Regions from separate parts of the Homo sapiens genome. Here region 2 is linked to region 1. The links are contacts of gene promoters, found by promoter capture Hi-C in blood cells and fetal thymus (Javierre and others, 2016). All regions are on one chromosome and are shown on one strand. The core of a region is centred on a gene start or on the middle of the fragment in contact, and the rest is flanking DNA. Distances in the headings are between cores, read along the strand shown.

Evidence for each region. The method cuts DNA at HindIII sites, captures the fragments that hold promoters and counts their contacts. A CHiCAGO score of 5 or more calls a contact.
Region 2: a fragment that was not itself captured here is called in contact with the fragment with the promoter of C2orf68 in region 1 in 2 of 17 cell types (erythroblasts and monocytes); the score reaches 5.9 in erythroblasts.

Annotation. Positions count from the first base shown.
Region 1 is chr2:85,610,636-85,613,359 of GRCh38, forward strand. It overlaps C2orf68 (chromosome 2 open reading frame 68), which reads right to left and starts at 1,431. Exons shown (of 4, transcript NM_001013649.4): 1 at 1,243-1,431; 2 at 1,033-1,151. The coding sequence starts at 1,349. It also overlaps a transcript of USP39 not described here. RefSeq lists silencers at 1,202-1,583, 1,203-1,272, 1,759-1,931 and an enhancer at 1,543-1,772. The HindIII fragment of the contact is 26,854 bases long and covers 1-2,724 here.
Region 2 is chr2:86,164,902-86,167,601 of GRCh38, forward strand. IMMT (inner membrane mitochondrial protein) reads right to left here. Exons shown (of 15, transcript NM_006839.3): 7 at 1,607-1,743. Among named protein-coding and RNA genes, the nearest start is that of MIR4779, 27 kb to the right of the region's middle. The HindIII fragment of the contact is 1,938 bases long and covers 318-2,255 here.

The DNA of each region.
Region 1 (2,724 bases), core at 181-2,680:
CTAACAAAGGTAGTGGCACACACCTATAATCCCAGCACTTTGGGAGGCCGATGCGGGCAGATCACCTGAGCTCAGGAGTTCGAGATCAGCCTGGACAACGTGGAGAAACCCCTTCTCTCTCTCTCTTTTTTTTTTTTTTTTGAGACCGAGTCTTGCTGTGTTGCCCAGGCTGGAGTGCAGTGGCGCGATCTCGGCTCACTGCAAGCTCCGCCTCCCGGGTTCACGCCATTCTCCTGCCTCAGCCTCCCGAGTAGCTGGGACTACAGGCGCCCACCACCACGCCCGGCTAATTTTTTGTATTTTTAGTAGAGACGGGGGTTTCACCATGTTAGCCAGGATGGTCTCGATCTCCTGACCTCGTGATCCGCCCGCCTCGGCCTCCCAAAGTGCTGGGATTACAGGCGAGAGCCACCGCGCCCAGCCGGGGAAACCCCTTCTCTACAAGAAATACCAAAATTAACCGGTGTGGTGGCACACGCCTGTGGTCCCAGGTACTCGGGAGGCTAAGGCTGCAGTAAGCCCAGATCGCACCATTGCACTCCAGCCTGGGCGACAGAGACCTAGTCTCAAAAATAAAATAAAAACATTTTAAAAAAAGTAATAATGCTTAACAAAAATTGACCGTCATATATTAACCAGTGTGATCTCTAGGTAGCAGAGAAGCTGGGGAAAGGCCATTTACTGGGTTCATTCCGCAATTATGTGCTGGTCGCTCATCGCTGTGCCAGACTTTCTCTTTGCTAGGTAGCGGAGCACCTTACTAAAATACAGCACGGTGGGGCAAACCGGCAGATAAACTTCTTGCTGGCTCCCCGATACTCTGACAGCGATGCTTAACTGGGGGCTTATGAGTCGTCCCAGTTCTTGGTGAGAATCATTCAGCGGAGATTTGGGAGCGCTGAGGTGGAGGTTCCGGAAAGAGACGAGATGAGCTGAACCTTAGGAGTAAGAAGTGGTTTTTCCCTATAGAGAAGGGGAGTGCGTTGCAGGAAGAGCGCGCGGGCTGGAGGCAGGCGGGGCGGGCGGCCTCACCTCGGTGTCGCGGCAGGTACACCTGCAGGTCTGGCTTGCGGGGCCGCGTCGGCGCGGGCGTGTGCCGCCTCCTCACCTTCTCCTTGGCCGCCTGCTTCACCTTCTTGTCATAGTCGTCCCTGCGGGGAGCCGAGCGGGAGTCAGGGACTGTCGGGCCGGGCCAGGCCAGGCCAGGAGTGGTGGCGGCGGCGGCGCAGGGCGGGGCGGTACCGAGCGATCTGGTTCCGTCGGATATGGTGCACGAAGCCGTGGTTCATGTCCAGCCGCCCCCCAGGCTTGCAGCAGTGCCCCGGCCGGGGATGCGGCCCCGCCTCCATCAGGAGCCGGGGACGCAGAGTCGCCGCCGCCTCGACGGCCCCAACAACAGCCACCCGCCCACAGAGCTCCGCGCCGCCCCTTGCTCAGCTTCCGGCCCCGCATCCTGACTTCCGGTCTGGGAGGCCCCGGCCTGGCCAAGCGATGCAGCGCACGGAGTTTTCGGGTCTGGTCGGGTCGGGTGGAGTAGGGTATGCTTGACTTCCACCCCCCGGACGGAGGGCTTTTGTTTTTGTTTTTTTTTGTTTGTTTTTTCGTAACATATCAATAGGAAACAAGGACTTCGGCTTACAGCTGATACCAGAACCTTCAGAAAAATGCAAATCATCTATAACACAACTCGATGCTTACGGCGGTGCCTTCCCATCTTTTTTCTGGTAATAGGATGCTGTGCAATCCATCGCCATCTGCGTGACTTTGGCTGACTGTGTAACGCTGCCACTTCTCAGTTTCCTCATTAGTAAATGGGAACACCTAGAGCACCTACCTCAAATGGATTGTGAGGCCTTGAAGTGCTCAGGCAGGGCAACAGCGGCGCCCAGGCCGCAGGCGCCGCGAAGGCTCTCCTGGCCCGGCTTGCCTCCTGCTCACGGCGCCGATGGCTTAACTGTCCCCGCGGGAGGACCCAGGGTTTTTGAGGGACCTACGGGTGTATTATTTTCTTTTTTATTTATTTTTCCTTTTTTTTTTCTTTTTGAGAAGGAGTCTCACTCTGTCGCTCAGGCTGGAGTGCATTGGCGTGATTTCGGCTCACTGCAACCTCCGCCTCCCGGGTTCAAGCGATTCTCCTGCCTCAGCCTCCCGAGTAGCTGGGACTACATGCGCGTGCCACCACGCCCGGCTAAGTTTTGTATTTTTGGTAGAGATAAGGTTTCACCACGTTGGCCAGGCTGGTCTCGAACTCCTGACCTCAGGTGATCCGCCTGCCTCGGCCTCCCAAAGTGTTGGGATTGCAGGCATGAGCCACCGTGCCCGGCCCCTTTTTTTTTTTTTTCTATTTTTTCTGACCACTGGGTTCACGTCACAGCGTGTAAAATTCTCAAGTCCTTTTACAAAAGTCAAAATCAGGAATTCATGATTAGGACAGGGACAAACGGCTGGATGCAGTGGCTCATGTCTGTAATTCCAAAACTTTGGGATGCCGAAGTGGGAGTATCGCTGGAGGGAGGAATTTGAGACCAGCCTGGGCAACACAGCGAGACATCGTCTCTACAAGAAAAAAATACATTAAAAAAGAAAGAAAGAGCCGGGCGTGGTGGCTCACGCCTGTAATCCCAGCACTTTGGGAGGCCCAGGCGGGCAGATCAAGAGGTCAGGAGTTCGAGACTAGCCTGGCCAAAATGGTGAAACCCCGTCTCTACTAAAAAAAAATACAAA
Region 2 (2,700 bases), core at 37-2,536, 550 kb after region 1:
CAACTCTTCACAAACACTGCTTTGTGAAAGTTATTCAGTATATATTAGAAATTACATGTGCACCTGTAGCTTCTTGTACTAGAAAAAACAAAAGCTGGAATTCATTCTTAACATTCCAAAATGTGTTCATACATTTTTCCAATTATTTTGTACATTAGCTAATACTCTCATCTGTTAACTGCTACCATTAGATTGTAAAATCTTGACTGCAATAGATTTTACACTGTCTAATCACCATGTGCTACACATTATGTGCGTTAGGAAGATGAAATACCACCTTGTGTACCCTTATACCCAAGTAGTAACATGGCATTTAAAGCTTCCAATCCGTGTCCTTCTGAGGGATACTGGTCTACTTGGGTTTGAACCCAACACCCTTACATCACGCAACTTCTAGCCTTCCCATATCGGTAACCAGCAAATTAAATTTCCTGGGTGGTTTCCACTTTGCTGACTGAACTCTGATATTTAAGTATTTTTCTTGGACTTTGAATAAAATGGAATTTTCCTTAAAATTTCAAAGGTTGTAGTTTCTTGCTACTAACATCAGAGGTCTAATTAAACTCTTTTGTAATATAAGTACATACGACTGAAACAATGTAAAGTGTGTGTAAAATTTTTTTTAAAACTACAATTATGATGGCAAAGTAACTTTACTGACCATGTATGATCCTGATCCTTAAGATTAATAATTTATGCATTTTACTTTAATTTACTCCTTAAATGACTTGGAATAGAGATACATTTATACATACTGAATAACTTAATGTAATTATAAAATAATGTATTAAGTCCCAGTATTAAATTTTGAAAAATCAATGTTATTACTTCATTCTTTGAAGTGTTTCGCATAAATAATCATAAACATTTAAAATAGCAGGTGTTTCAGGGAACATGAGAGCTCTCTGTATTATTTCTTAAAACTGCATGTGAAGTTTGAGAAGTATCTTAAAAAGTTTACCTATGGAAATAGCAATTTTAAAGCAAACAACAAAAATATTTAAGTGCTATTAAAATATGAAAGCAAATCTGAACTAATTCTTGCGCTGCATCGGTGTTGTAAGATATAGTAAAGCACAATGTATAAAATTCATTCTAAAAAACTTAAAGGCTTTTTTCAGTTTGTTTTTTAAACATAATTACTCTAAGGCCAAGCACAGTGGCTCACGCCTGTAATCCCAACATTTTGGGAGGCCGAGGCAGGCAAATCACTTGAGGTCAAGAGTTCCAGTCCAGCCTGGCCAAAATGGCAAACCCTGTCTCTACTAAAAGTACAAAAATTAGCCGGGTATGGTGGCGGGAGCCTGTAATCCCAGCTACTCGGGAGGCTGAGGCAGGAGAATCGCTTGAACCTGGGAGGTGGAGGTTGCAATGAGCCGAGATCGCACCACTGGACTCCAGCCCGGGCGACAGAGCAAGACTCCGTCTCAAAACAATAACAAAAAAAGATTAATTATTCCAGACTATCTTCCCCTAGTGAGAGAAAGCCGATATCATACGGAAGAAAGCAGTCTGTTAAATATTACACTTCTCTCCACCCTCGATTTTTCTTTTTGTCCTCCAAGTCATGACAGCCAGAACACTTCTAATCATTCATTGGGCTCACCTCAGAATTGTCCATGGCGGCTTTCAATATGTTGGAGTGTGCATTGACAGCCTGGACCGCAGCATTCTGAGCTGCAATAGCCTGCAGAGTGACACTTGCAGTTTGCCTCAGAGCATCTTCTAAGCTCTTGGCTAGAGCTTAAAAAAAAAAAAGAACAGTTAAAAAACAAATCCTACCCCCATAAATGACTTTAAACTTTTGCTGTTCTCCTATCTAGTCTTCCATTGCATTTCCCAAAAAATTTAAAAAGGAACAAAATACATGAGACTCAAATTTAGGGAATCAAAGTTTCACTTAAAAGTATGGTAAAGGCCGGGCGCAGTGGCTCATGCCTGTAATCCCAGCACTTTGGGAGGCCGAGGCGGGCGTATCACAAGGTCAGGAGTTTGAGACCAACCTGACCAATGTGGTGAAACCCCGTCTCTACTAAAAATACAAAAATTAGCCAGGCATGGTGGCGGGTGCCTGTAGTTCCAGCTACCTGGGAGGCTGAGGCAGGAGAATCGCTTGAACCTGGGAGGTGGAGCTTGCAGTGAGCCGAGATCATGCCACTGCACTCTAGCCTGGGCGACAGAGCGAGACTCTCTCAAAAAAAAAAAAGAAAACATGGTAAAATACTGATAATTTAGTCTGGATGATAAATCTATGAAGCTTTATTACACTTCTTTTTTTTTTTTTTTTTGAGACAGAGTCTCGCTCTGTCGCCCAGGCTGGAGTGCAGTGGCGCGATCTCGGCTCACTGCAAGCTCCGCCTCCCGGGTTCACGCCATTCTCCTACCTCAGCCTCCCGAGTAGCTGGGACTACAGGTGCATACCACCACGCCCAGCTAATTTTTTTGTATTTCTTAGTAGAGACGGGGTTTCACCATGTTAGCCAGGATAGTCTCCATCTACTGACCCCATGATCCGCCCACCCTGGACTCCCAAAGTGCTGGGATTACAGGCGTGAGCCACCGTGCCCGGTTTTTTGTTTTTTGTTTTTTTTTTTTTTTTTGGAGACGGAGTCCCACTCTATCGCCCAGGCTAGAGTGCAGTGGCACCGTCTCAGTTCACTGCAACCTCCGCCTCCTGGGTTCAGGCGATTCTCCTGCCTC